3 separate regions of the Homo sapiens genome follow, and regions 2 and 3 are each linked to region 1. The links are contacts of gene promoters, found by promoter capture Hi-C in human tissues and cell types (Jung and others, 2019). All regions are on one chromosome and are shown on one strand. Each heading gives the region's core, a stretch centred on a gene start or on the middle of the fragment in contact. The rest is flanking DNA. Distances are from core to core; before and after follow the strand shown. Region 1 holds the start of URB1 (URB1 ribosome biogenesis factor). Region 2 has its middle 70 kb from the start of SCAF4. Region 3 overlaps LOC124905008 (a long non-coding RNA gene).

Region 1 (4,476 bases), core at 421-2,920:
CATGTACCCTAAAACTTAAAGTATGATTAAAAAAAAAAGAAAAGAAAAGCCACTTCCTCAGGGGAGCCTTCTTTGAGCTCCCAGATTAGATCCAAGGTCTGTTAAACACCCTCAGGCACCATGTACCTCTCCTTTGGAAAACTCGTGCTTGAAACTGTATGTATGTGATTTTACTGACCAATATCTGCCTGCCCCACTCGACTGTTTGTAAACCCCACAATGGCAGAGGCTTTTTGACATTTTTATTCATCACTTTATCTCTACCGTAGCAAATAATAGCCTCTAGTAATACTTAATGAATTCGGAAATAAATAACTCTATGCTAACTAAGTATCATCTTCCTAGCTGTGACTAGCAAGTACAGGTATAGGTATCAAAGTTTAAAAACAGGCCAGGTGTGGTGGCTCATACCTATACTCCCAGCCCTTTGAGAAGACAAGGTGGGAAGATTGCTTGAGACTGGGAGTTCGAGGGCAGCCTGGACAACATAGTGAGATTCCATCTCTACAAAAAGTAAAAAAAAAAAAAAAAACATAGCTGGGCATGGTGTTGTGCACCTACAATCTCAGCTACTTGGGAGGCTGAGGTGGGAGGACAGCTTAAGCCCAGAAGTTCAAGGCTGCAGTGAGCTATGATAGTGCCACTGCACTTCAGCCTGGGCAACAGAGCAAGACCCTGTCGTTTAAAAAAAAAAATGAGGACAAAAATTGGAAGTTGAAGATATTTTGGCCATTAATTTAATCGTTTATTTAACCTGGGAGAAAAACTGCCACTGTTTTATTTTAGAGCAATGCTTCCACATGGCAACACGTTCAATTGCGTTTTTCCCAAACCATGTTACTTTCCAAACGATTACAAGTAGTCGCGAAGGGTGGTCACACTTTACAAAAAGTGTAATTAAATTATAGAGTCGGCTACATCTCAGTCACTGGCCCATTCCTGGTCAACTGACAAGTAGCTGTGGTGGCTTCTAGTAGCTTGTTACAAGTCATCAAGTCAGTATGAGTGTTGGGGGATGGAAGCTATTGAAAACGGTGCTGACGGCCCAAGGAGTAGCAAACTGTCTCATGAACCGTCCTGAGCCGACTCAGTAAGGACTCAATAGAGAAGGACACTTCATTTACTTCCCTGACAACTGCAATAAAGAGGTTTTAGAGCTCGCTGAGGGATGCTGCCTGGGCAAGGGAAATAAATGTGTTGTAACATGAAACGGTCCCAATCAAGCAAGTCGGGGCCCTCTCGCTGTCGCCGACAGTCCAGAGCAAGGAAGTACACAGCAGTCCTGAACCTCAGTTTTCTGCAAACCAGAGGCTTGCCACTGAGCCTATGTGACCCGAAAGCTGCAGAAAGGAGAGGCTGTGCCCGGCACACGGAGGCCGCCTCGCCAGCCTGTGCTCCCGACCCTGCGCCTGCCGCCCCGGACTCACCTGGCCCGGGGCCCTGCGGGTCCTTCAGCTGAGCCTTGAACCGCACGCCCGTGAGCTCTTCTTTGCGGGCGCGCTTGGCTGCACCCGCGGAGGAAGCCGCGCCGTCCTGGCCGCCCGAGGCCTTCCTCTTGGGGACCCCCATGGCCGAGAGGGCGGAAGCGCGACGGAAACGACACACCTGAGGGGACCCGGCAGGAGCACTGGCACAGACAGCAGACACGCGCTTCAGGCCCACATGGCGCAGGAAGAGGCGGGGCTGGCGGAAGAGGCGGGGCTGGCGGAAGAGGCGGGGCTCGGGGAAAGGCCGGCGGAAGGGGCCGACCCGCGCGAGGCTGGGACCGGCGGAAGGGGCGTGGCCTGCAGAAGGGGCGGGGCGATAGGGATCCAGAGTCTTGGGGATCCAGAGTCTTGGGGCTCCATGTGAGTTTGCTGTACCGGTTGTCCCGGTCACGGCATGGGGCGAGCGGACACTCCACGACACCCCCCGCCCCCGGCTGCAGGGTTTGGGGTCCACCGGGGCGCATTTCTGATCCCAGTGGCTCTTCGGGTGCTCTTGGCCGGAAGAACTCCCAGACCTTTCACTCCTGGCCTGGCCGATCCACGAAGACTCGGGCCCCGGCGCGTCCAAGCAGCACAATGAGTAGTTCTTGACCCGAGGTCGCCCTGAAGGTGTCGCATGAAGAGCTTGCTTCACACACAACAGGATTCGATACTTTGCCAATTCAAGGCCCTGGTGGCTGGCCGGGAAGGTGGATTCGCCTTGGCTAGGTGCCAGGCAGGTCCGCCTGTGCGGGTGCCCCTGACTTCGACCCCTAGCTTATGTCACAGCCCGAACCAGATCGACTGGTCTGGTAGCAGCCTGTCACTCCAGACTGTCCTCCACCCCAGACTTCCGCAAACTGATGGGCTCTTTGCGCCGTGCAGGGTGGGAGGAGAAGACCAAACGAAGTAACGTCTGTAAAACCCCTTCCTGGACAGCGTAAGGCCTCCACATCTAAGTTCCTGTCATTAAAATGGAGACAGCAAAGCCGACCCTATCCAGTCCTTGGGACTGTTATGAACAGAAAATGATGCAATGTATGAAAAACTGCTTTGAGGAGAAAAACAACACAGTGTGTTTTTGGAAGATGTGATTGATTTGTAAACCGCATTAAATGCTCTGAAATAAAATGAAAGTAAAAATAAGTAAAAACAGGCTGGTACATATTTTAATACGACTTCATCGATACTTAGGTATGTGTCCAAATAAATCATGAACCAGCGCATTAGATAAGTAACTTGGTGATTACTGAAATTCTCCATCAGGTTGTCCTCTAGTCTAAGAAAATTGTGTTTCATATTCTGTAAGCAGATGTGTTTTGAACATCTGAGGATGTGGGCTTTTGTGGCCTGTTGGGGTCTCAGAGTTTCTAGTAGAAAAAGCACGTGTGTTGACGCTGAGCCTCTGTCCCGACAAGATGATTGTGCCTGTGGAGATGTCTATGTTGTAGGCAGGTCAGAGAGAGGGTGTCACCCCTAGCAGATATGAGCTAATGCAGCAATGTTAAGAGAGGGGAATATGCTCAAAAAGTCATCTGTAAAAGGCAACACTCATTAGTGAATACAGACTTAATTCTGACTGATTATCCACACTGGTCCTCTTCTTTGGTTAATCGCTAACCACCAACTTTGTTTTCTGCCATGGTGGTCCCAACCAAAAAGTTATCAGAAAGAGTTAGGAAACAGTCAAAAGCCCTGAGTTCAGTTTCTGCCTGTGTGACCTTGGGCAAATTACCATCCCTCTGTGCTGGTTTGCTTTACAAACAATTAAAGAGCATGAGGAACTTCCCAGGATTATCCAGCTAGTAACTGGTGGAGCCAGGACTCACCCAGTGTATCCTAGTCCCAAATTAAAAACAAAGAAACAGAAGTTGGCAGTGCCCATTTACAGCCTTAGCCAGAGATGTATGGATGGCAAGTGTGGCTCAGAAGTGCATTTGGATGTTTTAGACTAAGTTAATGCCATGAATCATTGATGCTGGGTTAACCCTTTGTTCAGATATGAGGCTCACCAACCTCTGGATAGTGACTTGTCTTTCCATATCAAAGCTTTGTATTATTTGCCTCCAGGAGCATTCTGGTTTGTTGCAGACTATGTGGTACTGCTCCTAGGACATTCTAAGCTGAGGAAAAAAGCCCGAGAGCTTTTGTACTTGTTCCCTCTCTTTGAAACTCTTTGCCCAGAGCTCAAGTGGCTCAGATGTGGACTTTTCCTGTACATACCTCACTCTCTGTCTCCCGACCTTTCTTGATTGGGCCTACTTTATAAAGACACTCACTAATTACATCTGAGGGCTCCACCCTCATGAGCTAGTCACCTCACAAAAGGCCTCCCACAACCAAATATCACACTTGGGATGGGGTTTCAACATAATGAATTTGAGGGGGACACAAACGTTCAAACCATAGCACTTTCCCAACATGAAGATGATTTTTCAGTTAAGTTCTAACAATCTTTTCAGAAACAGATAATTCTCACCTTGTGCCGTTAGTTCCACAAAATAAAAAATAAAGTATCCCAACATCTTTTACGAGGCTCATATAACCTTAAATACAGAACAAGCTAAGGATAACACAAAGTATGAAAATGATGAACTTATTTCAAGTATGGATATAAATGTGTGTAAATAGAATATTAGTTAACTGAATACAAAACAGCACTTGAAAAAAACACAAGAAATACAAGGAAAGAATATCTTGCTTATATAACTCACCACAATAATGGATTAAAGGAGAAAAATCCGTTATTATTTCAATAGATGGAAAAAGACATTTGAAAAGATACCTATTTATGATTTTTAAAATTCACATAAAACTAGGGATAGAAGGACTTTCCTTAACTTGGTAAAGACTATATACCAAAAACCTGCAGCAATTATCATGCACAATGGGAAAACTATATGAACTTGAATTATGACTGGGAACAATAGGAAAAACAGGGATGTCCACCATGCTACTATCTATTACGAGAGGTCGTGGCTAGTGAAATAAGGCAAGACAAAGAAATAAG
Region 2 (4,718 bases), core at 1,150-3,649, 590 kb before region 1:
CTATTCACAGGCAGCTTCAAGCTTAGCCAGGCAAAACGACCGTGGTAATGGCTGAACTCTCAAAAGCATGTAAGTGTGGATGTGTGTGTGTGTGTGTGTGTGTGTGTGTGTGTGTGTGTGTGTGGAATGGGTGTCTATGTGTATATATGTATGCATATGAGTTTGGAGGCATGTGTGCTATATGTATGTGTTTGGAGAGGGTGTGTGTGTGAGTATAGGTGTGTGTGGGGGAATGGAATGGTATGTGTATGATGTGTTCATGTGATCCCAAGAGTTGATAGTTGTGCTCTGAGCCCCAGCAGTTGCACAAGTTTGCCAGCCCTCAGATGTGGGCGCAGAAGACATTCCTGGCTCCCTGTTCTGGCAAGAGAGTCGGTGACAGCCCTGCAGGGGGACTGGAGAATGGGGAGTCGGGGAGTCCCAGGTGTGGAGCACAGGAAGGGCGGGAGGCCGGTTTCCAGGCCTGGGCGAGCCTCCCATCCTCACCCCTCTCCCAGTTAGAGTGAGAGGCAGAGGGAGTGACAGGCTGATTTTGCTGCTAGCAGTCATCAGTCTCGGACCTGCTGCCAATCTGCGGAGCTGCTGTAAGCAGCTCCCCGGCTATTGTCACTGAGCAGTGACACACAGATCGGATGGGATCCTGTGCTTTGCGGCTCCACCCTCGGCTGGGGTCTCCTGAATAAGAAAGTGCACGCCCAGACAGGTCTGCCTCAGTCCTGCTCATGGGGGGCATGCCAATTCCAGAGCTTCCCTGGATCAGGCTGCCCCTCTGCCAGCCCACCACGCAGGTGGGATGGAGTGAGCAGTCAGCAGAGCCGATTTTCCTCAGAGCTCTTATAAAGCCTGAGTAAAAACAAGCTCAAAGTGTTATTTCTATTCTCTCACTCCACAACAATTAACATAGAAGACTTCTGAGACCAAATGTGTGTGAGTTTCCCCCACACTCCAAGCAAGCAATCAGTCTGCAGCGGACACCAGCTGGCTGTACTCCAGTTGAATGCCATCTACCTGGAGCTAGCGTCACATCCCACAGGGCCAGGGGCTCAGCCCCCAAGGCTGCCCCCCTCTTCTGATGCCAATCATAAGCCCCTGGTTATTTTGCCTGTGCTTGTGACTCACCAGCTCTGAATTGGGGTTCCCACAACCTCCTCCTTTGGTTCGATTAATTTGCTGGAGCTGCTCACAGACTTCAGGAAATCCTTATGTTTACCAGTTTATTACAAAGGATATTTTAAGATATACAAATGAGGCTGGGCACGGTGGCTCACACCTGTAATCCCAGCACTTTGGGATGCCGAGGGGGGCGGATTACCTGAGGTCAGGAGTTCGAGACTAACCTGGCTAACATGGTGAAACCCTGTCTCTACTGAAAACACAAAAATTAGCTGGGTGTGGTGGCAGGTGCTTGTAATCCCAGCTACTCGGGAGGCTGAGGCAGGAGAATCGCTTGAACCCCAGGAGGCAGAGGTTGCAGTGAGCCAAGATTGAGCCACTGCACTCCAGCCTGGGCGACAGAGTGATACTCCTTTCAAACAACAACAACGAAAAGATACAAATAAACACTCAGATGAAGAGATACACAGGAGGAGGTCTGGAGGAGTCCTGAGCCCAGAGCTTCTGTCCCCGTGGAGTTGGGGTGCGCCACGGTCCAGGCACATGGTTGTTGTGTAAGCCCCTGTGTGTCTGGCTATCTGCTGGCTCTCTGAACCCCGTCCTTTCGGGTTTTTATGTAAGCTTCATTACGCAGGCATGATTGATGACATCATTGGGCATTGGTGAACAACTTGACCTTCAACCCCTCTCCCCTTTGCTGAGGTTGGGGAGGGGGCTGAAAGTCCCAACCCTCTAATCCCGCCTTGGTCTTTCTGGTGACCAGCCCCCATCCCAAAGTTATCTAGGGGTTGCCAGTCATCAGTCAAATCATTTACATAGAGAAGACATCACTTTGGAGACTCTGAGGATTTTAGGAATTATATGCCAGGAAACAAGATGAAAACCAGACGTGTTTCACAATATCGTAGAATTCCAGAAATGGAGGCTACTCTTGCAGGACTGCTATACATGAGCCTTGAAAAATCGATATGGCAGTACAATACACACTAGCCATTTACTGTTTGGTAGTGGAGGGAGGGGTGGAGTCTTACCAAGTAAAGCAGTGGTTTAAAAACACAGACAGATGGAGACATTTGAGCCCTGGAGTCTGAATATCAAAGATTCCTGGAAATTACAGATTCCTGGGGTTTCTCTCCTGACAGGTTTGGACAAGAGTTCCTTGGCCTCTGGGTGTCCCCCCAACCCCCATCCCAACAGTGGTGCCCTCATAAATTATTGCAAAACTGACCCAGTGTGGTCTTAAGGAAAGGGAAAGATGTGTAAATAGGGGTTAAGGGCTATTTAAAGGGAACAATCTCCTCCCTCATATTACTTTTTTTTTAAATTTTATTATTATTATACTTTAAGTTTTAGGGTACATGCGCACAATGTTCACGTTTTTAAAATTGACTCACCAAAGGCCAGCATGGCCTGTGACCCTGTGCCTGCAGGCTCACATTTTCTAAATGACAAAGTGCTTCCTGCCTCCCGACAGCATTTCAGACAAGTCAACCTCGGGTCACTGTTTTTTTTTTTTTTTTTTACCCGCTTAGAATTGATGGGTTCCCTTGGTCTTCGGTGAGCCCCTTCAGTGCTGATACCCATCTGGTTATTCTTCCTTTTTTCTCTCGGTCTTTCATTCCTTTCTTTGACTTGTGTTGACAAAGCACCTAGGAATCATCCTTTTGAAAAAATTGTTTTACTCTTACTGTAGTCAGCAAAGTTCACTTTATATTTTCTCAATGTTCATTTTAAAAGTAGAAATTTCTCCAGGCACAGTGGCTCACACCTGTAATCTCAGCACTTTGGGAGGCGGACGTGGGTGGATCACTTAAGGTCAGGAGTTTGAGACCAGCCTGGCCAACAGGGTGAAGCCTCGTGTCTTCTAAAAATGCAAAACTTAGCCAGGCGTGGTAGTGGGCGCCTGTAGTCCCAGGTACTTGGGAGGCTGAGGCAGGAGAATCGCTTGAACCTGGTAGGCGGAGGTTGCAGTGAGCCGAGATTGCACAACTGCACTCCAGCCTGGGTGGCAGAGTGAGACTTGGTCTCAAAAAAAAAAAAAAAAAAAAGAAATTTCGCTTATCGGTCTTTCTTATAAGCATTACTTACATTATAGATCAGAGCGATGCACTAGAACTTTTCAAAATGATGGGAATGTTCTGTACCTGCACCGTCCTATTAAACTAGCCACCAGCCACCTGTAGCACTTGAACACTTCAAATGTGACTAGTGTGATCGAGAAACCACATTTTCAATTTTACTTAATTCTATTCAATTAAAATGTAAATAGCCGCATGTGACTAGTGGCTGCAGTAGCTAACCGTGTAAGTAGGGAACAAGTACGGATCTCCAAGGTGCTCCTCCTCCAAATCCCAGCAAATTCAGATTGCTTTTTCCTTGAGCAACCCAGGCACACTCCTTCATCCTTCTCTCGGCCCCCTTGGCATGAGAGGAAGTAGGCAAACACTCAGCTTTTTGCCCTGCTGTTCCTACAGCTCTGAGAGTCCTTCACACGGTGAGTAAGAGGTTGGGTTCGGAAAAGCTTGCTGAAATGTCATTAATATGGGTGAGAATATTTCAGTTCTTCGCCAAGCATTTTCTTTCTTGACACAACAGGTTTACCTGCTTACGCATAAAGGAAAGCAATGGCTAAACCCTGAAATGAAATGCCTGGGTCCCAGGTGGCTCATAGTTCTATTTCAATTTAATGCATGTTTAAACAAACGTAAGTTATTAGAGTTATGTACGCTTGAAGGTACTATATGACGAACATTTTGGGAGAAAGCTTATGGGAATTACAGTTACATAACCGGAGAAGAATTTGAAGAGTCCCGGGTTTGCATGGAGGAAAGAAGCTCAAGGCTGCATTTAAGCTTCCAACTGAGGCACTGTCTCTCTAAGACATTACTGGAATCTGACTGTAATTGGGTGACTGTTGGCAAAGACCTAGGATGAGGGAGACGATTAGGAAGCATCTGTTTATACAAAGAGGACAAAGGGACAAGGCATTTCCAGGGTGGAAAAAAACCTCAGACTTTTTAGCAAAAGTCAAAGGCAATGGTGAAACCCTGAAAGGAGGAAGTGGCTGGAAATATAGTGCAGACAATGGTGTACACCTGGAAAGGATCTAAAAACCCGAGAGAGCTCATCAGTGTCAGAAAACAAGATTGATGAGGCCTACCTGAGCGTGGGTGTCAGACAGAGACTATGTACGGGAACGATTCCTAGATTTGGAGAAGAGTTCTTGGTTAAAACAACAGGAGGTAGCCCTTTATTTTTCTCTTTCTTTCTTTCTTTCTTTCTTTCTTTCTTTTTTTCTTTCTTTCTTTCTTTTTCTTTTCTCCTTCCTTCCTTCCTTCCTTCCTTCCTTCCTTCCTTCCTTCCTTCCTTCCTTCCTTCTCTCTCTCTCTCTCTCTTTCTTTCTTTCTTTCTTTCTCTTTCTTTCAAGACAGAGTCTGGCGCTGTTGCCCAGGCTGGAGTGCAGTGGTGCAGTCTTGGCTTACTGCAACCTCTGCCTCCTGGGTTCAAGTGATTCTCCTGCCTCAGCCTCCTGAGTAGCTGGGACTACAGGCACATGCCACCATGCCTGGCTAATTTTTGTATTTTTAGTAGAGACGGGGTTTCAC
Region 3 (4,236 bases), core at 1,676-4,175, 650 kb before region 1:
TTTTTTGTATTTTTAGTAGAGATGCGGTTTTGCCATGTTGGTCAGGCTGGTCTCGAACTCCTGACCTCAGGTGATCCGCCCTCCTTGGCCTCTCAATGTACTGGGATTACAGGCATGAGCCACCACACCAGGCCAGTTTTATTGTCAGAAAGAGTAAGCTCCTTAAAAAAGTAAACATACAAGTAAGTATGCAGCAAACCTAAAATGTTCTGGATGTCATCTTAGCTATGATTGCAACAGTGAGCATATGAGTAACTAATAAAGGAAAACAATTTCTCTTCATCACTTCCTATCTTACTTAGGATTAGGAATCCAAGATTCTCTTTCCAAAATGGAAAGTATTAAAAACCAGTCTCATCTGAAGTGAAATGTCACCTTTTAGGACTAGGCCACGCCAGTCCAACATTTGCTGTTTCATTCATTCAGAAAATAAATGTGTACATCTCTTGTGGACAGGCACTGTGCTAGGTGTGTGGAATACTGTGATAAGCCCAAACACAGATAAGTTCCTTCCTCGAGGAACTATTCCTCCAGAGTCTGGCACCTTGCCCTGATGTTGAGTATTTTCCATGTGTATATTGGCCATATGTATACTTTCTTTTCCTTTTTTTTTTGAGATGGGGTCTTGCTCTGTCACCCAGGCTGGAGTGCAGTGGCTGGATCTCGGCTCACTGCAACCTCCGCCTCCCAGATTCCAGTGATTCTCCTGCCTCAGCCTCCCGAATAGCTGGGATTACAGGCACATGCCACCATGCCCACCTTATTTTTGTATTTTTAGTAGAGACAGAGTTTCACCATGTTGGCCAGGCTGGTCTTGAACTCCTGACCTTGTGATCCCCCCACCTCGGCCTCCCAAAGTGCTGGGATTACAGGCGTGAGCCACCGCACCCGGCCATGTATACTTTCTTTAGTAAAGTGTTCAAATCGTTTGCCCTTTAAAAAAACGGATCATTTGGAAGCTTCAATAGGAAGCTATTGAATGATATGAGTCCTTTGTCAGATATGTGTGTTGTAAACATTTCCTCACAGTCTGTGGCTTTCCTTTTCATTTTCTTTTGAAAAGCAGATGTTTTTAATTTTGATGGATATAATTTATACTTTTTTCTTTTATGGTTTGTGCTTTTCTGTCATATTGAAAAATTTTTGCTTATCCCCAGGATATGGAAATGTTCTCCTCTATTTTCTTCTTGACTCTTTATAGCTTAGCACTTTTGTTTAAGTCTGTGATCCATTTTGATTTAATATATGTGTATGAGATAAGATAAATATCAAGCTTCATTTTTTTACATTAGGATATCTAGTTGTTCCAGCACTATTTGTTGGAAAAAAAGATCATTTCCCCCATTGAATTACTTTGCCTCCTTTGTTGAAAATCAGTTGACCACATATGTGTGGATCTAGTTCCACGTATGTGTACTCTGTTCCTTTATATATATCTATATACTTTTCTTGCATATACATAGCCCACTGTCTTAATTTCTCTAGTAATTCAAGTAAATCAGTTAAAGTCTCCAACATAGTTCTTTTAAAAATTGTTTTCACTATGCTGTAATCTTTGCATTTCTATATAAATTTTTAAATCAACTTGTTAATTTCAAAAAAAAAAAAACACCCCACACAACTGAAAACAAGACAAAATAGGAAGTATGCTGGCTAGGCGTGGTGGCTCACGCCTGTAATCCCAGCACTCTGGGAGGCCGAGGTGGGCGGATCACGAGGTCAGGAGTTTGAGACCAGCCTGGCCAACGTGGTGAACCCCCGTCTCTATTAAAGATACAAAAAATTAGCTGGTCATGGTGGCGCTCGCCTGTGCACCTGTAATCCCAGCTACTTGGGAGGCTGGGGCAGGAGAATTGCTTGAACCTGGGAGGCAGAGGTTGCAGGGAGCCGAGATCACGCCATTGCACTCCAGCCTGGGCAACAGGGTGAGACTCCGTCTCAAAAAACAAAACAACAACAACAACAACAAAAATCACAAATGGGTGTTAATGTTGTCAGATACCATGGCTATATTCATTGGGATGATTATGTGATTTTGTCTATTCTATTATATTAATGAATTACTGTGATTGGTTTTTGAATGTGAAACCAACCTGGCATTCCTATAATAAAATCCACTTGGTTATGGGATATTACTTTTTTTATATGTTGCCGGGTTCAATTTGCAAAGATTCTGTCTGTCAAAATATTTCCTTCTATATTCATGAGTGGTATTGGTGGTCTCTGTTTTCCTTTTCTTGTAATGGTTTTGGTGTCGGGGTAGCTTGCTCTCATCAAATTATTTGATAAGTGCTTCTCTCCTTCCCTGTTATCTATTTTTTTTTTTTTTTTTTTTAGATAGCGTTTTGCTCTTGTCACCCGGCTGGAGGGCAGTGGTGCGATCTTGGCTCACTGCAACCTCCTGGGTTCAAGCGATTCTCCTGCCTCAGCCTCTCAAGTAGCTGGGATTACAGGCAGCTGCCACCATGCCCAGCTAATTTTTGTATTTTTACTAGAGATGGGGTTTCACCATGTTGGCCAGGCTGGTCTCGAACTCCTGACCTCAGGTGATCCACCTGCCTCGGCCTCCCAAAGTGCTGGGATTACAGGTGTGAACCACCACACCCGACCTCCTTCTCTATTTTCTAAAATAGCCTGTGTGGAATTGATATTATTTCTTTCTTAAGATTTGTTAGAATTCACCAATGAAGCCACTTGGGCCTAAAGTTTTGCTTATGAGAGGGTTTTATATTAATCAATTTTTAAAATTGATATAGTGTTCTTCAGGTCTTCTGTTTCTCGAGGGAGTTTTGATCATTTGTATTTTTTTCAGAAAATTGTCCATTTAAAGGTTGTCAATTTATTGCATAAAGTTTTTCCATGATATTCTGTTATTACCCTTTTAATGTCTGTAGTGATATTTCCTCTTTCATTTCTGATATTGATAATTTCTATCTTCTTTTTTTTCTTTTCTTGTTGAGTGAGGTTAGAGATTCATCTATTTTGTTGTTCCAAAAACCAAAGAAACAGTTTTTGGTTTCATTGATTAGCTCTATTGTTTGTGGACTTTCTAGTTCATTGATTTTCACTCTTATTTCCTTTCTTCTGCTTCCTTTATATTTAATTTGCTCTTTTCAAGTTTTTTTTTTTTTTTTTTTTTTGAGACAATGTCTCACTCTGTCGCCCAGGCTGGAGTGCAGTGGGGTGATCTTGGCTCACCACAACCTCTGCCTCCCGGGTTCAAGCAATTTTCCTGCCTCAACCTCCTGAGTAGCTGGGACTACAGGTGTGCGCCACCATGCCTGGCTAATTTTTGTATTTTTAGTAGAGACGGGGTTTCACCATTTTGGCCAGGCTAGTCTTGAACTCCTGACCTTGTGATCTGCCCACCTCGGCCTCCCTAAGTGCTTGGATTACAGGGGTGAGCCACTGTGTCCGGCCTCTTTTCCGGTTTCTTAAAGTGGAGGCCTAGATCATTGATTTTAGCCTTTTTTTTTTTTTTTGAGATGGAGTCTCGCTCTGCCACCCAGGCTGGAGTGCAGTGGCACCATCTCGGCTCACTGCAACCTCCACCTCCCTAGTTCAAGCAATTCTCCTGTTGCAGCTTCCTGAGTAGCTGGGATTACAGGCACATACCACCATGCCCGGCTAATTTTTTTTTATGTTTAGTAGAGATGGGGTTTCATCATGTTGGCCAGACTGGTCTCGAACTCTTGACCTCAGGCGTGAGCCAACACGCCCAGCCGAGCCTTTTTTTTTTTTTTTTTTTTTGTATTGTAAGCATTTAAAACTTTAAATTTACTTCTCAAATTTTGGAGTGTTGTATTTCTTAAATATTTAGTTCAAAATATTTTGTAATTTCCCTTGGGAGTTTTTCTTTTCCCTAAGTTCTTATTTATGAAAGTATTGTTTAAATTCCAAATAGTTGGGAATTTCTGTTATCTTTCTGTGATTGATTATACTAATCGAATTCCATTATAGTCACATATCATACTTCATATGATTTCAGTTTTTTTTTAATTATTGTGACTTGTTTTGTGGCTCAATTCATGGTCTACCTAGATGATTGCTCCATGTGCACTTTAAAATAATATATATTCCGCTCTTGTTAGGTAGGATAATAATATATATTCCGCTCTTGTTAGGTAGGATAATAATATATATTCCGCTCTTGTTAGGTAGGATAATAATATATATTCCGCTCTTGTTAGGTTCTGTTAACGTCTCTTGGATCAAGTTGGTTGATGGTATTATTTA

The links. The method cuts DNA at HindIII sites, captures the fragments that hold promoters and counts their contacts. A contact is called where the count stands out against the background at its distance.
Region 2: a fragment that was not itself captured here is called in contact with the fragment with the promoter of URB1 in region 1 in 2 of the 25 tissues and cell types used here (lymphoblastoid cells and mesendoderm cells).
Region 3: a fragment that was not itself captured here is called in contact with the fragment with the promoter of URB1 in region 1 in 1 of the 25 tissues and cell types used here (thymus).

Annotation. Positions count from the first base shown.
Region 1 is chr21:32,391,342-32,395,817 of GRCh38, forward strand. It overlaps URB1 (URB1 ribosome biogenesis factor), which reads right to left and starts at 1,671. Exons shown (of 39, transcript NM_014825.3): 1 at 1,428-1,671. The coding sequence starts at 1,569. URB1-AS1 (URB1 antisense RNA 1 (head to head)) reads left to right here and starts at 1,792. Exons shown (of 1, transcript NR_026845.1): 1 at 1,792-2,619. RefSeq lists enhancers at 937-1,719, 1,579-1,873, 1,720-2,501, 2,024-2,273. The HindIII fragment of the contact is 16,791 bases long and covers 1-4,476 here.
Region 2 is chr21:31,799,979-31,804,696 of GRCh38, forward strand. No RefSeq gene overlaps it. Among named protein-coding and RNA genes, the nearest start is that of SCAF4, 70 kb to the left of the region's middle. RefSeq lists enhancers at 227-727, 728-1,228. The HindIII fragment of the contact is 3,044 bases long and covers 878-3,921 here.
Region 3 is chr21:31,737,574-31,741,809 of GRCh38, forward strand. The region is part of intron 1 of LOC124905008 (a long non-coding RNA gene); the gene reads left to right. Among named protein-coding and RNA genes, the nearest start is that of SCAF4, 7.6 kb to the left of the region's middle. The HindIII fragment of the contact is 5,403 bases long and covers 225-4,236 here.